Linked DNA regions of Homo sapiens: all the other regions are linked to region 1. Evidence: promoter capture Hi-C in 16 types of primary human blood cells and fetal thymus (Javierre and others, 2016). All regions are on one chromosome and are shown on one strand. Each heading gives the region's core, a stretch centred on a gene start or on the middle of the fragment in contact. The rest is flanking DNA. Distances are from core to core; before and after follow the strand shown.

Evidence for each region. Contacts are between HindIII fragments. The CHiCAGO score rates a contact against its expected background, and 5 or more counts as called.
Region 2: a contact is called between a fragment that was not itself captured here and the fragment with the promoter of FUS in region 1, in 1 of 17 cell types (monocytes). The highest score is 5.2, in monocytes.
Region 3: a fragment that was not itself captured here is called in contact with the fragment with the promoter of FUS in region 1 in 17 of 17 cell types (M0 macrophages, M1 macrophages, endothelial precursors and 14 more); the score reaches 25.5 in M0 macrophages.
Region 4: a fragment that was not itself captured here is called in contact with the fragment with the promoter of FUS in region 1 in 1 of 17 cell types (M0 macrophages); the score reaches 6.4 in M0 macrophages.
Region 5: a contact is called between a fragment that was not itself captured here and the fragment with the promoter of FUS in region 1, in 1 of 17 cell types (monocytes). The highest score is 6.6, in monocytes.
Region 6: the fragment with the promoter of FBXL19-AS1 here is called in contact with the fragment with the promoter of FUS in region 1 in 2 of 17 cell types (fetal thymus and megakaryocytes); the score reaches 6.9 in fetal thymus.

Annotation. Positions count from the first base shown.
Region 1 is chr16:31,178,807-31,182,770 of GRCh38, forward strand. It overlaps FUS (FUS RNA binding protein), which reads left to right and starts at 1,333. Exons shown (of 15, transcript NM_004960.4): 1 at 1,333-1,421; 2 at 3,592-3,616; 3 at 3,707-3,858. The coding sequence starts at 1,409. RefSeq lists enhancers at 219-278, 570-1,330, 789-858, 1,331-2,092, 2,093-2,853 and 5 more and silencers at 1,019-1,088, 1,729-1,878, 1,999-2,048. The HindIII fragment of the contact is 6,651 bases long and covers 1,309-3,964 here.
Region 2 is chr16:30,803,431-30,807,093 of GRCh38, forward strand. All of the region lies in intron 1 of LOC124903679 (a long non-coding RNA gene), which reads left to right. Among named protein-coding and RNA genes, the nearest start is that of ZNF629, 18 kb to the left of the region's middle. RefSeq lists silencers at 2,018-2,077, 2,218-2,307. The HindIII fragment of the contact is 5,793 bases long and covers 1-3,663 here.
Region 3 is chr16:31,451,257-31,455,082 of GRCh38, forward strand. No RefSeq gene overlaps it. Among named protein-coding and RNA genes, the nearest start is that of ARMC5, 6.3 kb to the right of the region's middle. RefSeq lists enhancers at 552-846, 1,427-2,199, 2,200-2,971. The HindIII fragment of the contact is 3,667 bases long and covers 210-3,826 here.
Region 4 is chr16:30,873,493-30,877,169 of GRCh38, forward strand. MIR4519 (microRNA 4519) reads right to left here and starts at 1,831; the gene lies at 1,774-1,831. It overlaps MIR762HG (MIR762 host gene), which reads left to right and starts at 1,968. Exons shown (of 3, transcript NR_110942.1): 1 at 1,968-1,994; 2 at 2,538-2,626. It also overlaps a transcript of BCL7C not described here. RefSeq lists enhancers at 496-1,251, 1,252-2,006, 1,541-1,800, 2,007-2,761, 2,071-2,280 and 1 more and a silencer at 2,681-2,740. The HindIII fragment of the contact is 2,091 bases long and covers 1,228-3,318 here.
Region 5 is chr16:30,725,158-30,728,705 of GRCh38, forward strand. The region is part of intron 25 of SRCAP (Snf2 related CREBBP activator protein); the gene reads left to right. Among named protein-coding and RNA genes, the nearest start is that of TMEM265, 14 kb to the right of the region's middle. The HindIII fragment of the contact is 4,495 bases long and covers 28-3,548 here.
Region 6 is chr16:30,921,245-30,924,865 of GRCh38, forward strand. FBXL19-AS1 (FBXL19 antisense RNA 1) reads right to left here and starts at 2,025. Exons shown (of 1, transcript NR_024348.1): 1 at 1-2,025. It overlaps FBXL19 (F-box and leucine rich repeat protein 19), which reads left to right and starts at 2,328. Exons shown (of 11, transcript NM_001382779.1): 1 at 2,328-3,215. RefSeq lists enhancers at 398-1,366, 1,107-1,926, 1,367-2,334, 1,957-2,046, 2,087-2,246. The HindIII fragment of the contact is 5,738 bases long and covers 1,197-3,621 here.

The DNA of each region.
Region 1 (3,964 bases), core at 83-2,582:
TCAAGGGCTTAGTGGGGCTTAATTTGTGGGCGGGCCCAGGGCATGGCCCTCATTGTTTCTCTAGAAAGACGTGTCCAACCCTCAAAGGACCTTCTGAAATCCCGCTGAAAGGTTAAGTTGGGAAGGAAAACCTGCATGCCTATGTATCAGGAATTAACGTCTTTTGTCTTGTTTTATTCAGTAGTTTCAAATTGCCTTCTCCAGGCAAGGCTGATGAAAGTGCAAGTTGCAAGTTAATTTGAATGTTTCTTTTTGCTTTTGCTCTCACAGGAAGTGAAAAGGCGACCAAACACTCTAGCATTCATGCCACCAAAAAGAGGAGTGTTTTGCAGTTACAAGACCTGGATTCGAATCACGACTCCTCTTAGCTGCCCTGTAATCAGGCACAATTACTTGGGTCTCTGAGTCTCACTTTCCTTATCTAGAAAACGGAGGTATCTTTACTTCCTTCGTAAGACTGATGACAAGGAAATTATCTGTGCATTTTGAAACCACTTAAGCCTTGTACACGTTTTATTTCTGGGATCGCCCTGGTAGGGCTTCAGAAAAATAAAAAGGAGGTCCCTGAGAAAAGGCTGGGTACCGTACATCTGAGGTCAACCCTCTCTGGTCCCAAGGATGGCCTGGGCTGTTCCGCCCCGTGGCTCCCCAGGGGCAAAGCCATGAGGATCCGGGTGAGAGCCCAGTGCTGGACGAGCCCGGGGCCCAGGGGTCCCGGCCGAAATCCCTGCTGTCTTTCAGGTCAAACGTCATAATCCCCGAACCCCAGAAAGGCCGAAAGGCAAGGCAACCCTGAAAGACGACGAAGTCAACCTCAGGGCGCAGGAGAGGGAGGGCCAGTGTGCTGCCGACGAGGGAGGCTGGAGCCGCGGGGACGAGGCGCCCCATACAGCGGCAAGAGGGTGGAGGGCAGGAGCTCGCCATCCTGGGTGAAAGCGGGGCCCAGCGAAGGGGCCCGGCCACAGGAATCTCGGTTCCACCCCGCTACTCCCGGCTGTGACTCCAGTTTCGTCCCCAGCCGCCGGGACCGCCCCCTCGCCCCGCCCCCAGCGGGCACTCAGGCCGTACCACTGTGCCTTCATGGGGGTGGAGATAGATCGTGGGCTAGTCCTGCCGAGGAGAGAGGGGTTCTTCCTCAAAAAATATGATTATGTATAGTATTCGCATGATTCTAGTTAACTTGTTTCCCTTCTGCCTGCTCGGACCCTCTACCTGCCCTACGAAGGGGGCGGAGTGCGTTCCTGCCTCCCCCTGCTCTTCCGCGTTTGGTGCGCGCCTGCGCGGTGCGTAGGCGGCGGAGCGTACTTAAGCTTCGACGCAGGAGGCGGGGCTGCTCAGTCCTCCAGGCGTCGGTACTCAGCGGTGTTGGAACTTCGTTGCTTGCTTGCCTGTGCGCGCGTGCGCGGACATGGCCTCAAACGGTAGGTAAGGGCGCGAGGCGACGGCGGCGGCGCACCCGGCCGAGGCCTCCCAGCTGGGCTTTTCGTTTTCAGTGGGACCGGGGCGGCGATCCCGTGTGGGATTTTTTGGCGCCCCTGTGGCGGGAAGCCGCGGAGAAGAGTAACTGGAGGAGGCTGGTGTCGCCATTTTGTTTCGCTCCTCTGGCCCTCGCGCGCGGGGCGGGAAGTCTTTTCTTTGCAGTCCGTTTGCTTGGGGTGGGCGTTGGGAGGGACGCTTCTTAGGGGTTTGAAGCGTCAGGTGAGGGTGGAAAACGCCCATTCTCCGTGGCCTCGCCTCCCCCAACTCCCGGCCCCGCGCTCGAGCCCGCTTTGTCGCAGTGCTGCATCCGGGCACTCGCGGCGCGCACGCGCTCTGCGGGCCCCTCCCCCTTCGCGGCGCGGGTACCCCTTCCCCGCCTCGTGTTGGTTCAGCTTTCTGTCGCGAGACCCTTCGCGGAAGACTCGGCGGCGCGCGTCCGGTGTGAGCCTTGTCCCTCAGTGGTCCTTCGCGAATGGGCGGGATCGCTCCGTTCCCGCCTGGGTTGCCACGCGGCTGGGGGCGGAGGCTCGGGATCGGGGCCGCCCTCTAGCTTAACGGTTTGGCGGCGGTGGTCAGGGTTCGACCAACGGACTTGGGGACGGCCCGAGAGTTTTTCCCGCCTAAATTTCTTTCTTTTTTTTTTTGGAGACACGGTCTTCCTCTGTCGCCCAGGCTGGAGTGCAGTGGTGCGATCTCAGATCACTGCAACGTCCACCTCCTGGGTTCAAGTGATTCTTCTGCCTCAGCCTCCTGAGTAGTTGGGATTATAGGCGCCCGCCACCACAGCCCGGCTAATTTTTGTGTTTCTTAGTAGGGGCGGGGTTTCACCATGTTGGTCAGGCTGGTCTCGAACTGCTGACCTCAGGTGATCCGCCCGCCTGGGCCTCCCGAAGTGTCGGGATTACAGACGTAAGCCAACCACGCCTGGTCTAAATTTCTTTTTTCTGAGATAGGGACGGAGAAGAACGGCCGCCCGAGGCCACACCCTCTCCTGGTCCTCTTTCCCTTTTCCTGCGGGGGAAGCGCCGCGTTTCCTGTGCTGGGAGGATGAGTTGATCTTGTTCGTGTATCTTAAGTGGGGCTTTTCAAAAGCGCTTTTGTTGCTTTTTGTTCGCTGGGGGAAGGCAGGGTAGGTGAGAAAACGGAACCATCTGGAGTCCCAGGGCTGGGGACTCGAGTACCTGTTGACTTTCGCCTCCTAAGGCGAGCAGTTGCATGATCTCTGTCATTTGGGGTCCAAGGGCTCTTTTGATTCTCTGGCTTTGCACTAAAAAGCCCACTTCATCTCCGGGATTGGTCAAAGAGTGAAGAATGGCCTTTTTTGAGACTTTCTTATTCTGTGGGTCTGGGCTGAGAGAGCAGAGGCCACAATCTGAACACTGTTCGAATTCAAACCTGTGCCACTTTGGTAGTTCTGCGACGTTGGGAGAGTTAGTCTCTTGACTCCTGGCGATAATGGCTTTCTCATAGAGTGGATGAAACGAATGCGCGATGTTTTAGAGCAATCACTGACATGAATTGGGCTTGCAGAAAATTGTGGATGTCCACCAAGACCTTGGTTTTTCCAATGGTTAAGGCTTCTGGGACTCTGTAGAAACTTGCATTTTCTTCACTTTTTCTTTATTGTAAGAACACTTGGCTGATAACGCCAGTTTGTTCCTCTTCTCAACCAGTGTCTCATGGAGGAATTTTATGCCCTTTGTTGCAACATGGTCCTATTTTTATTTTTTTTTTTGAGATGGAGTCTTGCTCTGTTGCCAGGCTGGAGTGCAATGGCTCACTGCAACCTCTGCCTCCCGGGTTCAAGCGATTCTCCTGCTTCACCTCCCGAGTAGCTGGGATTACAGGCGTGCGCCACCATGCCCGGCTAATTTTTTGTATTTTTATTAGAGATGGGGCTTCACCATGTTGGTCAGGCCAGTCTCGAATTCCTGACCTCAAGTGATCCACCCACCTCGGCCTCCCAAACTGCTGGGATTACAGGCATGATCCACCGTGCCTGGCCTACGTGGTCCTTTTTATTCATCAGTGCTTGAGTTAAGGAATTTAGCTTTAATTCAACTCTTTCAGAGTGGCAGCTGAAGATAATGTGATTGTATTTTTCTTTTGCAGATTATACCCAACAAGCAACCCAAAGGTGAGTGCTATTTTTGGGCTTCCAGAGTTTGTAGAGGGCAAGGGTGGTCACGCCATGTTTTCTGATCACGCTGGTTTTCCTTTTATTTAGCTATGGGGCCTACCCCACCCAGCCCGGGCAGGGCTATTCCCAGCAGAGCAGTCAGCCCTACGGACAGCAGAGTTACAGTGGTTATAGCCAGTCCACGGACACTTCAGGCTATGGCCAGAGCAGCTATTCTTCTTATGGCCAGAGCCAGAACAGTGAGTCTTTCTCAGCGGGTCACCTCTTCCTACTCTTTCTGAATATTGCTTTTCTTTTTCTTGTTTTTTGGAGACGGAGTCTGGTCCTGTTGCCCAGGCTGGAGTG
Region 2 (3,663 bases), core at 810-3,309, 370 kb before region 1:
GATTGATTTTCATCCTGTTGTAGGAATTAGGTGATTTAGCACAGCTCTGAACTAACTAGATGTCCAAGTTTGATGCTTTAGTTTGGAATTCCCAGAAAAAGTTTCCCAAATGGAGATTCAGTGCAGAGGAGAGGGAAAATCGTGCATTGTGCACTCTGGAATCAGGCAGTTTTGAGTTCAAATCAGACTCTGACATATACTCAGTTATTAACCTGTTTCTTTCTTTCTTTTTGTTTTTTGGAGATGGAGTCTCACTCTGTCACCCAGGCTGGAGTGCAGTGGCATGACCTCGGCTCACTGCAGCCTCTGCCCACTGGGTTCAAGCAATTCTCCTGCCTCAGCCTCCCGAGTAGCTGGGATTACAAGTGTCTGCCACCATGCCCAGCTAATTTTTCTATTTTTTTTTTTTTTAGTAAAGACGAGGTTTCACCATCTCGGCCAGGCTGGTCTTGAACTCGTGACCTTGTGATCCACCCACCTTCGCTTCTCAAAGTGCTGGGATTACAGGCGTGAGCCACCACACCCGGCCCTGTTTTTTTTTTTTTTTTTTTTTTTTGAGACAGTTTCGCTCTTGTCACCCAGGCTGGAGTCCAGTGGCACAATGTCGGCTCACTGAAACCTCCGCCTTCTGGTTTCAAGTGATTCTCGTGCCTCAGCCTCCCGAGCAGCTGGGATTACAGGCGCCTGCCACCACACCCCGCTAATTTTTTTATTTTTAGTAGAGACAGGGTTTCACCACGTTGGCCAGGCTGGTCTCAGACTCCTGAACTCAAGTGATCCACCTTCCTCGGCCTCCCAAAGTGCTAGGATTACAGGCATGAGCCACTGTGACTGATTTTTTTTTTTTTTTTTTTTGATACGGAGTCTTGCTTTGTTGCCCAGGCTGGAATGCAGTGGCGAGATCTCGGCTCACCACAACCTCTGCCTCCCGGGTTCAAGCGATTCTCCTGCCTCAGCCTCCCGAGTAGCTGGGACTACAGCTGCGTGCCACCATGCCTGGCTAATTTTTGTAGTTTTAGTAGAGATGGGGTTTCACTATGTTAGCTAGGCTTGTCTCAAACTCCTGACCTCGTGATCCGCCCACCTCGGCTTCCCAAAGTGCTGGGATTATAGGCATGAGCCACCGCACCTGGCCATTAACCCGTTTATTGTTGTTGTTGTTTTTTAAGACGGAGCCTCACTCTGTCGCCCAGGCTGGAGTGCAGTGGTGTGATCTCGGCTCACTGCAACCTCTGCCCCCTGGGTTCAAGCGATTCTCCTGCCTCAGCCTCCCAAGTAGCTGGGATTACAGGCGCCCGCCACCACACCCGGCTAATTTTTATACTTTCAGTAGAGAGGGGGTTTCATCACGTTGGCCAGGCTGGTCTTGAACTCCCGACCTTGTAATCCACCTGCCTCGGCCTCCCAAAGTGCTGGGATTACAGGCGTGAGCCACCACGCCTGGCCTAACCCGTTTCTTAATCCATAAAATGGGAATAATATTAACATTCCCTTCACAGAATTGCCCTGAGGTTATAGAGATAAGGTGTGTAAGGAACCTAGCACACAGAAGGCTCTCAGTAAATAGCAGTTATTACTATCATTTTTATCATGTTTCTTATTCTCATGTCTCAAACGTGACCCTCCACCAAAAGTTCTTTTATAGCAGAGTATAAATAATGGAAAAAAATGATATATAGCTTTTTTGTTTCCCCTCCAGACAGTGTCTCACTGTCACCCAGGCTGCAATGCAGTGGCGTGATCATAGCTCACTGCAGCCTCAAGCCTCTGGGCTCACGCTATCCTCCCGCCTTGGCCTCCCAGTGCTGGGATCACAGGCGCGCGCCACCACGCGGGGTCCAGCCTCTCTTCTGAGTGCTGCACATGCATTAATTCATGGAATCCTTACAGCAACCCCTTGCAAGGAAGAAAGCTGTGACTCAGAGAGGTTGAATAACTTGTCCGAGGAGCTCAGCCATGAGGCGGATCGGGGATGGAAACCCAGGCCGTGGGCCCTGCGCGGTTACAGGCATTCAATCCTCCAAATGTCCCCAGAGTGACTAGCGGCCATCATTCGGCCCTTCTCAGGAGGAAAGCGAGCGAACACCTCACGCGGCGACGGCCTCCCGGAGCTGAAGGGGTTATTCCCACTGAGACGCGGTCGCCTCCGCTCCTAGAGAGGCCCACGGAGGGCGCCGCACTTCCGGCCTGGGTCCAGCTTTGGCTCCGGCTCCCGCTCCTGACCTGCTGCTTCCCGGGCTGGCGTCCGGGCCGGCGTCCGGGCCCAGGCGACCGGGGCCTCCGAGCTCAGAGGCAGTGCCGAGGACCGAAGGAGGGGAAGGGATTCCCCAAAGGCATCCCTGACTCCCGAATTCCAGCAAGGGAGAATCAGGCGCTGGGGAGGCAAGGAGAGGGCCGCGGCTCTCCTCGGGGGCCGCGGGGCGCGACTCTTCCAGGACCTCGGCTGCTTTTCCCAGTAAAGCCCAGGCGGCCCGAGGCTGGCCGAGGGAGCGACCCTCTCCTGCCTCTTCTGGAAGGGCCGCTTCCCCGCCCTGCTGTAGACCCCGAGCTCCCTGGGGGAAGGACCCGCTCCTTCCATCCTCCACCCTCCCGAGCACCAGCCTGGGAAGGAGGGGATCCCAGTTCCTCCTTAGAGGCGACTCCTTTATCAAGTCTGATTTAGACATGGGCTCGTCCAAGGTCGTTCAGCAGCGAGTAGCGGAGCTGGGGCTGCACCGAGGAGCTCAGGCCCCACTCCGTGTTGCGGTCAAGACCAGATTTTGGGGTCAGCTTCTCAAACTCAGCACTACCAGCACCAAACTAAACTACCTGGCCCCTCCTCCCGAGAGAGGGTTCATTCTCAATCAAATCGGAACCTCAGTTTTTCTCTCCTGCTTTCCGTCCGCTTCCCTCGTCCTCCCTTGACCATACTTTTATGCTTCATCTTTTCCATCCAACCCGTCTTTCCAGCCCTCCCTCAGCCGTACTGCCGCAAACCTGTGTCGTTGCAACAACCTGCAACCTTGCCTGCCTCTCCCTTTTATTTCACGTGAAACTCCACTACAAGGAGTCCCCAAATCCTTGCCTCAGGCCACCCCTCGTTCCAAAAATACCTTTTAGTGATTTACTCACTGCCTGTGAGTTCAAGTCAAAACTCAGCTTGGCATTCAAGACGATTTGAAACCTGGCTCAAGCCCACCTCTCAAGAGGATTTGAAACCTGGCTCAAGCCTACCTCTCTAACCTGATCTATCTTGGTTCCCTAAGTAGAGGTCACAGATTGGCAGATGCAACTGGGAAATGTGTTTCAACTGGCAAAGAGTGTTTCTTTTCTTTTTCTTTTTCTTTTTTTTATTGGAGCCAATGGCCAGGCGCGATGGCTAAAGCCTGTTATCCCAGCACTTTGGGAGGCTGAGGCAGGCGGATCACTTGAGGTCAGGAGCTCGAGACCAGCCTGGCCAAATGACGAAACTTCATCTCTACTAAAAATACAAAAATTAGCTGGGCATGGTGGCTTATGCCTGTAATTCTAGCACTTTGGGAGGCCGAGGCGGGGGGATCACGAGGTCAGGAGATCGAGACCATCCTGGCTAACACGGTGAAACCTCGTCTCTACTGAAAATACAAAAAAATTAGTCGGGCGTAGTGGCGGGCGCCTGTAGTCCCAGCTACTCCGGAGGCTGAG
Region 3 (3,826 bases), core at 793-3,292, 270 kb after region 1:
CTGGGCAACGTAGCAAGACCCGTCCCTACAAAAAAAAAAAATTAAAAATTAGCTGGGTGTGGTGGCATATGCCTGTAGTCCCAGCTACTTGGGAGGCTGACACAGGAGGATCACCTGAGCCCAGGAAGTCGAGGCTGCAGTGGGCTGTGGTCGCACCACTGCACCCCAGCCTGGGTGAGGGAGAGACCCTATCTCAAAAAACCATAAAAAGCTTTTTGTTATTGGGATGGCACTGCTCCAGGGCTTTCCAGAGCTAGGGAATATATGGACATTTACACACATCTGCGTGCACATACACATATACACACCCATACTAATTTCTATGTCTATCTAAACACTTTCTGAAAATCCTGAGTCTACTCCTATACCTCCAGTTCCAATTCGACACCACAAGGGTCTCCCCACCCACATTTTCTCCCTTTCCCGAGCTGTGTCTCGGTTTTCTCTGACACTGAGAAACCTGGCTGTTATCTTTCAAATGTGTACTTATTTGACCAATAGCTGGTGGAAGCAGTTTCTTATCTCTCTCGCCATCTCCTTCCCGTGGCTGATGCCTTCCTAATCCTATCAGGTTCTGCCATGCCAAGCCAGGCCACCTTCTCGTGTGGACACCCTCCCCCACCTGCTGGAGCTCTGATACATGCTCTGGCCTGCTGCGTCTCACTCCCCACACCCGGCAGAGGCCTCTTTGGCTCTGCCTGCCCCTAGAGGCTGTAAGACAGCATTGTTCAGGAAAGGGAGGAAAGGGAATGGGTGTAGGAAAGGAAGAGCGGATCTCCTTTGAAGAATTATCTTTAAAAAAAATTATTTTTTTAGAGACAGGGTCTCACTCTGTTGCCCAGGCTGGGGTGCAGTGGCACAATCCTAGCTCACTGCAGTCTCAAATTCCTGGGCTCAAGCGGTCCTCCTGCCTCAGCCTCCTGAATAGCTGGGACTACAGTGAACATCACCACACCTGGCTGGTTTTTTAATTTTTTCTAGAGATGGGGTTTGCTATGTTGCCCAGGCTAGTCTCGAACTCCTGGGCTCAAAGCATCCTCTCACCTCAGCCTCTCAAAGTGCTGGGATTATAGGTGTGAGCCACCGCCTTTTTTTTTTTTTCTGATTTACTATAATATTTCTAGTAAGCCATTGGCTTAGAAACCAGATTCACTAATTAATTCATTTACCCTTTCATGATACAAAATTTTTTAACTGAGTGAGGCCTTTCCTGAGAATTGAGCACATGAGCTTTGGTGCATGGACCTGGAAATCTCTGCTTCTTGAACTCCTAGGGGCTTCCTTTACTTCATTCACTCCTGGTGCTCAGCAAATTTCTGAATGGGGGAGGTTGGCCAGCCTGGGAGAGGTCACCCACGCCAGGAAGTCTCAGTACCTCTCTATTTATCCTATCACTTGGGAATCCTCTAGGATCTGTTTCAGGGAGTCTCTGGTTAGCCCTGAGACATAAGTGGTGCGGGTGAGACTCCTGGGGCCTATCTCAGAGGTCCTCACACCCCTGAGATTAAATCAGTCAGGAGGCAGGGTGGAGAGAGGAGTGTCCTATCAGGTCTGAGGAGGTTGTCAACTTCCTGGACTTCTTGCTAAGGACTCCTCTTCCCACCCTTCATGGGTAGCTGAGGTCAGGGAATCTGTAGGGACAAGACTTTCTTTTAAATGCTAATCTGCTGACTAACCCTGAGTCTGGGAATGCCTCCAAAATGTCAAGCTGATGTGTTTTTTTATTTTTTGGTTTTGTTTTTTTTGTTTTTTTTTTGAAACGGAGTCTCACTCTTTCATCCAAACTGGGGTGCAGTGGCACGATCTTGGCTCACTGAAACCTCCACCTCCTGGGTTCAAGCAATTTTCCTGCCTCAACCTCCCAAGTAGCTGGGATTACAGGCACGTGCCACCATGCCTGGCTAATTTTTATATTTTTGGTAGAGACAGGGTTTCACCACGTTGGGCAGCCTGGTCTCGAACTCCTGACCTCAGGTGATCTGCCCACCTCGGCCTCCCAAAGCGCTGGGAATACAGGCGTGAGCCACCGTACCAAGACATCCCACAGCACCAGCCTGTGTGTGTCTCGCCAGGCTCAGAGCTGGGAACCTGGAACCCAGGACTGGGTGAGCTCAGAGACATAACTGTGACTGTACTGGAGTCAGTCTTATGCCCAGAGCTAAGCAGAAGCAGGGCCAGCCCAGAGGAGACGATGTTACCGACTCCCACCCCGTCCTGTCTAGCGCTTAGAGTACCTCTGTACTGGCTTGCTTCCTACAGTTGCTCTGGGAGGAATGTGTGCCAGAGACCCTGACCTCTGACCCAGGCATGCAAGGGTCTGCCTTGCCTAGTTGAGCCTGTGCACTCTGTCTCTGCCTCCCTTCAGATAGGGAAAGGAGCTTCAAATTACGGGGTGATGTCATAGCACGGAGTGGAGATGGGGTGGCAGGGAGACAGGGAGGCTCAGGGAAGGAGGCCAGGTATTTCACAGAGGAGTTCTGGGGGAGAAGAAGGAAAACGGCAGAGAAGGGAACAGGAAGGGGTGAAGGAAAGGGGAAAAGTGCCTTCACTGCATGGAAAGGTCCTTCTCACCCACAGTGGGGTGGGATGGAGACTGTAACCTCAAGTACTTTTCTGCAGGGGACAGGCAAGTAACACATATGAAACGTGCTGAGTCAGGGATGCAAGAGGGAGTGTCCCTGTTCCTATGTCCAGGACAGCCACTACTCAACGAACTGCTGCCATAAAAATCCAATGTTGCAGCATCTTCTGATATAAATAATAAAGCAGGCCGGGTGTGGTGACTGACGCCTGTAATCCTACCACTTTCGGAAGCCGAGGTGGGTGGGGGAGGGAAGGGCCGGGGCAGGGGATCTTTTCTTTTTTTTTTTGAAACGGAGTCTTGCTCTGTCACCCAGGCTGGATTGCAGTGACAGGATCTCCGCCCACTGCAAGCTCTGCCTCCTGGGTTCATGCCATTCTCTTGCCTCAGCCTCTTGAGTAGCTGGAACTATAGGCGCCTGCCACCATTTCCAGCTAATTTTTTGTATTTTTAGTAGAGACAGGATTTCACCTTGTTAGCCAGGAAGGTCTCGATCTCCTGACCTCGTGATCCGCCCACCTAGGCCTCCCAAAGTGCTGGGATTACAGGCGTGAGCCACCGTGCCCGGCCAGGAGGGGATCATTTGAGCCTAGGAGTTCAAGACCAGTCTGCAACCTGGCAAGATCCTGTCTCAATTAAAAAAAAAAAAAAACAAAAAAAACAACAACAAACCAAGCCCCAGAAATCGACTGTGATGTGAAATCTCCTTATTTAAATGTTGGCTCTTTAAAAAAATAAAAAGACCAGGTTAGGTGGCTCACATCTGTAATCCCAGCATTTTGGGAGGCTGAGACCAGAGGAACACTTGAACTCAGGAGTTCAAGACCAGCCTGGGCAACACAGTGAGACCCCGTCTCTACAAAACATTTTTTAAAAATCAAAAAATTAGCCAGGTGTGGTGGTGTATGCCTGTAGTCCCAGCTCCTTGGGAGGTTAAGGTGGGAGGATCACTTGAGCCCAGGAGGTTGAGGCTACAGTGAGCCACAATTGCACCACTGCACTCCAGCCTGGATGACAGAGTGAGATTCTGTCTCAAAAATAAATAAATAAATAAATAAATAAATAAATGGGCATGGTAGCTCACACCTGTAATTCCAGCATTTTGGGAGGCTGAGGCAGGGGGATTGCTTGAGCCTGGAAGTTTCAGAGACCAGCCTGGGCAACAAAATGGAACTCAAAAAGTAAAAATCTTGGCTTGTTTGAAAACACACACACACACACACACACACACACACACACACACAC
Region 4 (3,677 bases), core at 1,023-3,522, 300 kb before region 1:
TTTAAATGGGTGAGTTGTATGGTGTGTGAGTCATCTCTCTCAGTAAAGGTGTTATTTTAAAATACGTATATATGGGCCGGGTGTGATGGCTCAGACCTGTAATCCCAGCATTTGGGGAGGCTGGGGCAGGCAGATCACTTTTGAGCTCAGGAGTTCCAGACCAGCCTGGGCAACATAGCAAAACCCTGTCTCTACTAAAAATACAAAAATTACCCAGGCATGGTAGCAGCAGCCTGTAATCCCAGCTACTCGGGAGGCTGAGGCAGGAGAATCGCTTGAACCTGGGAGGCGGAGGTTGCAGTGAGCCGAGATCGAGTCCCTGCACTCCATCCTGGGCCACAGAGCTACACTGTCTCAAAAAAAAAAAAAATTGTACAGATATATATACACACACACACATATAGAAAAATTATATAATTTTTCCTCCTCTCTCTATATACATATATATATAGATATATGTATACACACACACACACACACACAGAGGAAGGTATAGGTGTCAAACCTTTTTTTTTTTTTTTGAGACAGATTCTTGCTCTGTGGCCCAGGCTAGAGTGCAGTGGTGCGATCTTGGCTCACTGCAACCTCTGCCTCCCGGGTTCAAGGGATTCTCCTGCCTCAGCCTCCCGAGTAGCTGGGATTACAGGTGTGTGGCACCACATCCGTCTAATTTTTGTATTTTTAGTAGAGACAGGGTTTCACCATGTTGGCCAGACTGGTCTTGAACTCCTGACCTCAAGTGATCTGCCCGACGTGGCCTCTTAAAGTGCTAGGATTACAGGCGTGAGCCACTGAGCCCAGCCTAAATTCAATTATTAAACTCCTTGAGTTAATTAAAGGGTAGCCAGGTGCGGTGGCTCATGCCTGTAATCCCAGCACTTTCAGAGGCCGAGGCAGGAGGATCGCTTGAGCCCAGGAGTTCCAGACCAGCCTGGACAACATAGCGAGATCCTGACTCTACAAAAAACAGAAAAATTAGCCGGGCGTGGTGGCGCGTGTTTGTAGTCCCAGACACTCCTGAGGTTGAGGTGGGAGGATCACCTGAGCCCTCGGGAGGTCGAAGCTGCAGTGAGCGGAGATCGCACCGCTGCACTCCAGCCTGGGGGACAGTGAGGCGGTCTCAAAACAAAACAAAAACAAAAGGGGAGGGCGGGGGGAAGACTTAAAGACCCCTGAGCCAGGGCCATTATTATTTAACTTGGTCGGGTCTCTGAACCATTCGGAGGAAGCTTGGGTTTCTATCCTTCCCGACTGAGCCACAGACCTGAGTCTTGACTCCGGATAAATCACCCCAGACTGTTTTTCTGTCTGTGACACGGGAACGGCAGCTTCTGCCTCGCGAGGTGGAGAGAGAATGAGAAGCGCCGTGTGTGGCGCGCCTGACACGGTCAGCTCGCGGGTGGAGGCCCGGAGCAGAACGCCCTCGGGCGCCCGCTCTTGCAGCCGCACTGGAGACCGGGAATGGCTCCGGCCACGCCTCTGCCGACTGCGGCAACGCGAGGGACAGCTGGTCTCCGGGGTTGCAGCGTAACGCCCTCCTTCCCGGCCTCATCTTTCCTGACTGCATAACGGGCATACAGTGGGTTCCATGGCGCAAGGGAGCTGAAGAAGCCGCCCGCCCCCAGCTCGCCCGGGATCCTCACGCCCCTATAACGCCCCGAGGGGCCACGATGCTGCCCACAGCCCAGATCGCGAGTGCGGACCCTGCGGGAGGGTCTGGCCTAGATGCGAGTTTCCCGCCGCAGACCAGGCGAGGCCACGCGACATATCCCCTACCCGCTTACTGCAGGCCGCAGACGGAGACAGTGCAGCCCTGCGCACTGCTGAGGTTGCCCGAGGTCTCAGCCTCGGCGGGTCGGGAACACGCGGCGCGCGCCCGCGCCCCAACCGGAAGTCCGCCACCGGCCGCTCTAGCACGCGCAGGGCTGCGTCTGTGGCCTTAACCCTTCCCAAGGCTGCGCCGCCGGCCTTTGTCTCCGCGGAGCGTCACAAAGGTTGGAAGGGTCGCGGGGCCTCTGGGTGCCGAGCTGCAGATGCCTCCACTGCGAGCACAGCCCTGAGACAAGGGCCCAGGCGCCCAGCGGGGCTGGTTTCACTCAGTCCAGCCGCACCTACCCGTGCCCTCACCAGATCTTAAGATACAGACATTAAAACCTCCACCGGGCCGCGGCACAGGACAGCAGTTTTACTTTCTGTTTTTGGCATTGCATTGCCTCCATTTCCTAGAGTGCACGTAATAAATACCGCTGGTGATTCCAAAATATAAAGGTTGAAAATATTTACTTTACAAAAATTTGGTTCCCATACTGCTTTTAAGGCCATCCTCTGCACTTGGTTCCCGCTGCTCCTGATGTGGTTGAAAGATGGATGACCCCAAAGACGAGGAAAAGATTATTGGCTCCATTTTTTAGATGCGGCAGCCAGCTAAGGTCTAGACAGGGGAAGGGACTTGCCCCAAATCACAGTTAGAGCAAATCAGTCTGAATCAGGAATAACTCCATTCCTATCCCGCATCCTGCCCTTTCACTACGCCACAGCTGCCTGGCTGCCTGGAGGAACAAAGGAGGGCCGGGCAAGAACGCCATTACCAACTGCAAATCCACAGGCAAATGCAAGAGGACAGAAAGTAAGTTCTTGGGCTCTGCCCTTGTGCCGTACCCGGAGGGGTTCTGGGGTCACCAGCCAGGTGCATCCCTGCCTTCACAGCCATGCACAGCGACACCCAGTTAACTAATGGGGGGGATTATGCCACTTGCTGGGTATGCCTGTGCCACCAGTGCACTCACTCTGTGCCTGGGGAAATAACCACGGATGAATCTGGGGATCCCCTGGGCCCACTGTGAAATGGACCTGAGCTAAAACTCCATTGATCACAGGACCTCAGGGATCTTTTGGGTCTCGAGAACAGAATTGGATGCTACAGGAGAAATGTAACCAGAAAAGGATTAGGATTTTGCCAGTAGAGAAAGGGAGATGTGCTTGCTTTCATTCATTTATCATTAATGAGCACCTACTGTATGCCAGGCACCACACTAGGCCCTAGGAAGACAGAGATTATGAGACAGATGTGGCCTTATTCTAGCAGGGGAAGTGAGATGAAGGAGGTGAGAAAGAGGAAGTATAGTGACTAACCAGGGACCTGACCTAGTTTGAAGGTCAGGGAACCTTGGAGGAGGTGAAATCAAACCCAAAGCCTGAGATAAGAGAGAGAAGGGGAGGGTGGAGGGAAGGAAAGGGCTTCACAGACAGAGGGAACGGGAGTGCTAACAGCCTGGCCAGCTTCCTTGTGGTAGAAGTTCTATGCATGAGTTGGAAGAAAGCTTGGGGAAAGGGGCAGGAGAGGTGGGCAGGGGCCAAATCCAGCAGGGGCTTTTCTACCATAAGGAACTTGGTGGGAGAACTCCATGGGCAAAAACAGGTGTGGAAGGGACCAAGAAGCCCATGTGGCTGGAGGGCAGGACATGAGATGAAGATGACTAGAGCAGGGAGTGAGGAGGTGGAGAAGGTGAGCAGAGGCCAAGGCTGGGAGGCCTGAAATGCCTGGCCGCAAAACTCAGCCATTAGCCTGGAGGCCATGCAAGTGAACAGCAAGGAGGAGAGTGGAACACCAGGGAGCGGTAGGGATTGCGGGGACTGAAGGGCAGAGACTCCGCCCCCAGGGCAGTCAGTGTTCTGCA
Region 5 (3,548 bases), core at 1,025-3,524, 450 kb before region 1:
TGTCACATTTAACCTGGTGAATTACAAAGCTTAATGTTATGGACCAAGTACTTGAGTGACATTTGGACAAGTCCCTTCTCTTCCCTGGGCGTGTACCTCATGATCCGCCTGCCTCAGCCTCCTGAAGTGTTAGGATTACAGGGGTGAGCCACCACGCCCGGCCTCTTTTCCCGTTTTTTAACCCGCACGGTAATAAATGGGCAGTAAAAGGAACTCTTCTCTGTCCCTTTTATGATTTCCGGTAGCTGTTTCTTTCCTGTACTATGTATATAGGCCCATGTCTGTGTAGTACTTGAGTTAAACTCACAGTTCAGCTTAAGTAAACCAGAACTAAGGAGAAGGAAGGTCCAGTGGGTCCCTCCACGCCCTCTGGCTTTTCCCCACTGTAATCAGAGCTGCTGCTTAGTCTTTGCTTCATGCCTACTCCCCCACCTTCCACCAGTGCCATTGACTCCACCTTTGGTTTTTACCTGACCAGCCGCTAGGTTGGTCCTGGCTGGTTGGAAGTAGAGAGTAGAGGGATTGCTCTGCAAGTAGATAATAGCCTCTTGCCACTTGGTTTTTTTTGGTAACAGTTTGTGCTATAAATCATATACCATTCGATTTACCCATTTAAACTGTACAATAGTTTTTGGTTTTTTTTTTAAATACAGATGGGGGTCTCCCACTCTTGACCAGGCTGGTCTCGAATTCCTGGCCTCAAGTGATCCTCCCATCTCGGCCTCCCAAAATGCTGGGATTATAGGTGTGAGCCACCATGCCTGGCCCTAAACTGTACAATAGGTTTTTAATATATTTATAGGGTTGTACAATCATCAACACAATCAACTTAGAACCTTTCCGTGGCCCCAAAAAGAAACGCTGCACCTGTTAGCCAGCATTCCCCAATCCCTCCGTCCCTCCTAGTCTTGAATGACTACCATCCTACTTTTTTATTTCTCTAGTTTTGCCTATGGAGTCATAATGTATAATGTGTGGTCCATTGTGACTGGCATCTTCTACTTAGATTAATGTTCTTTGAATTTTATTGTGTTATAGCGTATATCAGTACTTCATTTGTTTTTATGTTGAATAATAATGTATGAATACCACATTTTATCCTTGAGTTGATGGAAACGTGTGTTACTTCTGCTTTATGGTTGTTATGAACAATGCTGCTGTGAACATTTCATGTACAAGTTTTTGTATGGACAGGTGTTCTCAGTTTCTGTTAGATACATACTGAGGAGAAGAATTGCTGGGTTATATTGTAACTAGGTTTTAACTGTTTAAGGAACTGCCAGACTTTTCCAAAGTGGCTGCAGCATTTGACATTACCACCAGCAGTCTGTGAGGATTCCAGTTTCTCCACATTTGAGCCAATACTTTTTTTTTTTTTTTTGAGAAGGAGTCTTGCTCTGTTACCCAGGCTGGAGTGCTTTGGCACGGTCTTGGCTCACTGCAACCTCTGTCTCCTGGGTTTAAGTGACCCCACCTCAACCTCCCTCGTAGCTGGGATTACAGGCATGTGGCACCATGCCTACCTAATTTTTTTGTATTCTTATTATTTTATTTTATTTTTGAGACAGAATCTTGCTCTGTTGCCCAGGCTGGAGTAAAGTGGCACCATCCCGGCTCACTGCAACCTCCACTTCCCAGGCTCAAACGATTTTCCTGTGTCATCTTCCCGAGTGGCTGGGACTACAGGCATGGCGTCACCACGCCTGGCTAATTTTTTTATTTTTAGTAGAGATGGGGTTTCACCATGTTGGCCGGGCTGGTCTCGAACTCCTGACCTCAGGTGATCCGCCTGCCTTGGCCTCCCAAAGTGCTGGGATTATAGACATGAGCCACTGCACCTGGCCAGATTTTTTTGTATTTTTAGTAGAGATGGGGTTTACCATGTTTGCCACGCTGGTTTCGAATTCCACACCTCAAGTGATCTGCCCGCCTCAGCCTCCCAAAGTGCTAGGATTACAGGTGTGAGCCACCATGCCTGGCACATCATCACTTTGATTATAGCCATCCTGCTGGGTGTGAAGTAGTAGTTCATTGTGATTTTGATTTGAATTTCCCTGTTGGCTAATGTTGAGCTTTATTTCATGTGGTTGAAATACCATGCTGGCCATTTGTGTATCTTTGAAGAACTATCTGTTCAGATCCTCTGCCCTTTTAAAATGGGTTGTCTTTTTATTATTGAGTTGTAAGAGTTCTTTATATATTCTGATTACAGATCCTTTTTCAGACGTATGGTTTACAAATAGTCTTTTTTTTGAGACAGTGTCTCACTTTGTCAATCAGGCTAGAGTGCAGTGGCACAGTCTCCGCTCATTGCAGCCTCCTGGGCTTAAGTGAACCTCCCATCTCAGCCCTCCAAGTAGCTGGGACTGTAGGCTTGTGCCACCATGCCAGGCTACTTGTTTGTTTCTTTTTTTGAGATGGAGACTCACTCTGTCACCAGGCTGCAGTGCAGTGGTGCGATCTCAGCTCACTGCAACCTCCGCCTCCCAGGTTCAAGCGATTCTCCTGCTCAGCCTCCCAAGTAGCTGGGACTACAGGCTTGCACCACCACGCCCAGCTAACTTTTTTGTAATTTTAGTAGAGATAGGGTTTCATCATGTTGGCCAGGATGGTCTTGATATCTTGAGCTCATGATCTGCCCGCCTCGGCCTCCCAAAGTGCTGGGATTACAGGTGTGAGCCACCGCGCCTGGCCCTTGTTTGTATTTTTTGTAGAGATGCGGTTTTGCCATGTTGCCCAAACTGGTCTTGAATAGGAGGCTCAAACCATCCACCTAGGCCTCCCAAAGTGCTGGGATTATAGGCTTGAGCCACTGCTCCTGGCCAGATTTTCTCTTTTTGCTACTATTGGGAGCTAGCCTCAAAAGGAACTAGCTCTTTGAGTTTATTGGTTTTTCCGTCTGCTAGGACACCTTTTTTCCCTCACATAGAGCACTTCAAGCCAAGAGGTGAAACTTGGTAGCAGTCAGGAAGGAGATTTGGAACACTCCTCTTTTCACAACTATCTCTTGGGGTCTAGTCTCCCTCATTTGTTCATTTTGTTAACAGATAAATGTATTGAGAGCTTAATTGTGCTAGTTACTGAGTGATTATAGTGAGCAAGGCACAGTTCATGTTGTATGGGGCCTACCGTGTAGTGGATAGATATTAGTTAAATAATCATACAGATGTGTAACTACAAGCATAATAAGTGATACAAAGAAGTTTTTCAGACTGTGAAACTGGAAGCACAAAGATGGGAAAGGATTGGGTCAAAGTCATCCAGGTGTCCTCACTGCCGGGTTGCCCATTTTCTGTCTCAGAGTGATGAGACTCGGATGTCCGGTTAGCTGTTCCCATTCCACCCCATTCCAGTCTGGCCCTTGGCAAAAACCTGGTCTGGATTTGATTGGCGCCTCTGTATCCTGGTCAGTGATTTGAAGAAGGCTATAGTCCTGGAGTTGAGTGTTACGTAGGAAAATACCCACAAATCGTCCATTCTATAAACTTGTTGGAATTGTAGATCTTAATTTTGAATATTCAGTCATTCTGCTTTGGTAGCATACAAGG
Region 6 (3,621 bases), core at 775-3,274, 260 kb before region 1:
AGGTTTTCCAGGGGAGAAGGAAGATTGAGAAGAGGGGTATGGCTGCTGGCTCACACCTATAATCCCAACACTTAGGGAGGCCAAGGCGGGAGGCACACTTGTGGCCAGGAGTTCGAGACCAGCCTGGGCAACATAGCGAGACTTCGTCTGAACAAAAAAAAATTATAGTTTAAAAATTAGCTGGGTGTAGTGGCGCGTGCCTGAAGTCCCAGGTATTCACAAGGCTGAGGGAGGAGGATCGCTTAAGCCCAGGAGGTCGAGGCTGCAGCAAACTATGATCCTGCAACTGCACTCCAACCCAAGTGACAGAGCAAGACCTTAAAACACACACAAAAAAAACCAAAAAACGGCAGAAAGATGAGAAGCCGTTCCATTTGCATAGGCAGTTGAAGTGTCTAGGCAGAGGCCTCCAAGGCTGACTGGATATCAGGCAGGGGATGAGGCTGGACAGCCTGCAATGCCTCCAACTCCAGGTTGCGGAAATCGTGTTTGTAGTACCTCAGTCGAATGGAGATTGAGCGCCCCCTGGGAGCAGTGCTCGGTAACAGACGCTGGAGGACCCCGATGAGGAGGGGCGGGGGTCGGTTCAATCTGGGAGGAGCCTGCGGGTCAGTTTTCTTCTCACAGGAGCGAACTCTGTCCGGCATCATGGATTCCTGGGCTCCCAGAACGGCTGGGCTGGAAGGGACCTTAGAAAGGGATCTACCACCGCGTGCCCCGTGCCAGAGTTGGGCACTTTGGTGACAAGAACATTGGCTTGTTTAACACTCACAACTGTGCTTCGAGGTGGGGATCATTATCCCCATTGTCCCCATTTTGCAGATGAGAAAAAGCAAGGTTTGGTGGCTTCCCGGGGCGGGGCGGGGATTCGCTGTGACTCCAGGTCCTTTTCCCCGGAGCCCGCACGTCTTGTAAGACACTGATTCCCGGAGGTCTGAGGAGCAGGAATCGAGTGGGAGGTGCCCAGGCTTTCTAGGGAACAAGAGTGTGAATGCACTCTCGACGAGAACCACGCCCCCCTGTTCGACAAGACTGATTCCTGCTGCCTTCCTTTAAGGGCCCTCCCCTGAAACGCGAAGTCCTCGCCCCATGGAGAGGCGGACATTCTTTATTCCCGGATCGCCCGACGTTTTTCTCCCCCACCCGCACTGATCCCCACTGGTGACATAAATCCTTCCCCTCCACTCGCGAGTGAAAGCTTGGGACTACATTTCCCGCCAGGCTGTTCAGAAGCCGGTGGCGGAGAGAGGAGAAAAGAGTCTTTCCGTTTCCGTCGCCTCGCAATTTGGCGTGTCCGCCGGGATTCACATTTCAACAGCGACGTCCTTTCTCTGTTGGACTCGGCAAGGAACTACATTTCCCAGCAGGCACCGGCGCAGAGGTCGAGGGGCGAGGTCGCCATCTTTTTCGTAGTCCTCTCCCTCATTTCCGCAGGGAAGAGGCCAGACGCCTGGACTACACATCCCATGTCGCAGTCGCCCCGGCCCTGCAGCCGCCATCTTTGCCGGTGGCCCCGCCCCATCCCCTTCCATTGTCTCGACTTGAGATGATAGACGGGAGCCGGGAGACTGCAACTCCCGTCAGGCCGTGCGCCACTGGTGGGGGGGATTTCGAGACCACAGGCGGGCGAGGTGCCCAAGGTGGTGGAAAGCGGAGACCGGGAGAGGCTAGGTAGCCTGCCATCTTTACGGTAGTCTCCTCGTCCTCCTGGTTCCGCCATTCTTAAGGAACACTGGAAGGCTATAAAACTACTAATCCCATCGCACCTCGTAAGATCGACTACTAGTCAGGTGTATGTCCCTCTTCCGCCATCTTGCTTGTAGTCCTCTTTCCTTTTCACCTTTCCATTGTTCCTGACGAGTAGAAATGGCAGCGGGAAGGCAGCAGATGGACTGCGACTCCCGTCAGGTACCACACACGCGGAGGGTTGTGGACAGGAGGGCGTGTGAGTGCCTGGGAAGGAGGTCGGGTCGGGGGAGAAGGCCATCTTGTTTGTAGTCATCGTTCCCTCTCCTTCTCGATGTTCTGCAACTGGGAGCCTCGGGGCAACGGGACTCTAACTCCCGGCATCCTCGGCTCCCGGCTGGGCACGCCCTCCGCCGTCCTGTTTGTAGTTCCCGCTGTCCCCAGCGTCCTATTGTTCCCCCGTAGCATCAGTGGCCGCAGGACTACAACTCCCGTCGAGCCCTGCGTGCGTTCGTCCTGGAAAGTGGAGGTGGTGGAGGAAGGAGGGGGAAGGGGGCGGGGTTCCTCTGGGAGAAGGAGGGAGTAAAGAGGGGGAGGAGGAGGAGGAGGAGGGAAGGAGGAGGGAGGGGAGGGGAGGGGGGAAGAGAGGAGGAAGGAGGAAGGAGCTGAGGAGGGATGAGAGAGGCGGCCAGGGCCCCGGGCCGTAGCAGCGCGGGGCTGGGGGACCAGGGGGGCTGAGACACCCCAACTGCCCCCTTCCCCTTTCCCTCTCCCCCTCTATCCTTTCCTTCCACCCTCCCGCTTGAGGAGGGGGATTTATTCAAATTTTATTTAAATCCCTATCTCCCGAGGGTCGCGCGCTTGGGGGAGGGGGAGAGGTCGGGGGTGCGCGCGGGCTGGGGGGGGCGGGGCCGGAGCAGCTTCCTTCACCTCCCCCTCCGCTCGCCTCGCAGCCGTAGGGCAGGGGGTCGCAGTCCAGGGGCGGGCCCAGGGGAGGGGGGCAGGTTACAGCGACCCCCCCCTCCCCGGGAACCGGCGGTGGGCGGGCTTGAACCCCGGAAACGGTGGGGGGGGCCCAGGCCTGGCACTGGACCCCTGGGCAGTGGGGTCCGGGAAGGGGCCAGTTAAAGGGCCAGGGGCGCTGGGGAGAGGCGGGGCGGGGTGGGGGGAGGGGAGCTGGGACTCGGACCCGGGACTGAGTGGGCCCCGGGCAGAAGCTGAGCACCCTGCGCCCAAGGAGCCCCCGTTGGCCTGGGGGGGCTGAGGGACTGAGCCTCCCAGAGCAGGACCTCCCCCTGGAAGGGCCGCGCCGCAGCCCGTGGGAGGGCCTCGCCCCCGGCGCCCCCCATCTCCACTCGCCGCCGTCCCGGCCTCCGCCGGAGGGAGGGGCCGAGCGCCCTCGGGGGGCCGTGGACCCCGGCGTTCTGAGCGTTCCGCGCCCCGCGCCGCCCGGCCCCCCCGCCGCCGATGGCCGCCGACCCGCCGGGAGCTGCCGAGAAGGGAGAGATGGCTCCCGGGACACGTGTGAGGTGGGTTCATGCGGCTCCTCCTCACCCCCAGACCTGGGCAGCGCCCACTCCCATTCATCCTCAGCCCGGCCTCTCTCTACCTTCCCCGCCCCCAGCCTCACCCTCTCTCTACTCCAAACTCATCTCCAGCCCTCCTTCCTATGACCTCTCCACCCTGGGGAACTGGCCCTCCTTCCTAGACCCTGCTTCCCCTTGAAAGCCCCCACCCCCGCCTGCAGTCGCCGCCCTCCAGGCCCCTCCCCTGGAGCGCTGGAGGGCCCCTTAGCCCCATGGATGGGTATGAAAGTCCCCGGAAAGGGGGAATCTGGGGTAAGACTGACTGGGAAGAGACCCTCCAGGCTTCTAATTCCACATGGGATCTTGGAGGATCTGGTTTCCATGGGAGGGGGAGCCCAAGGGATTCTAG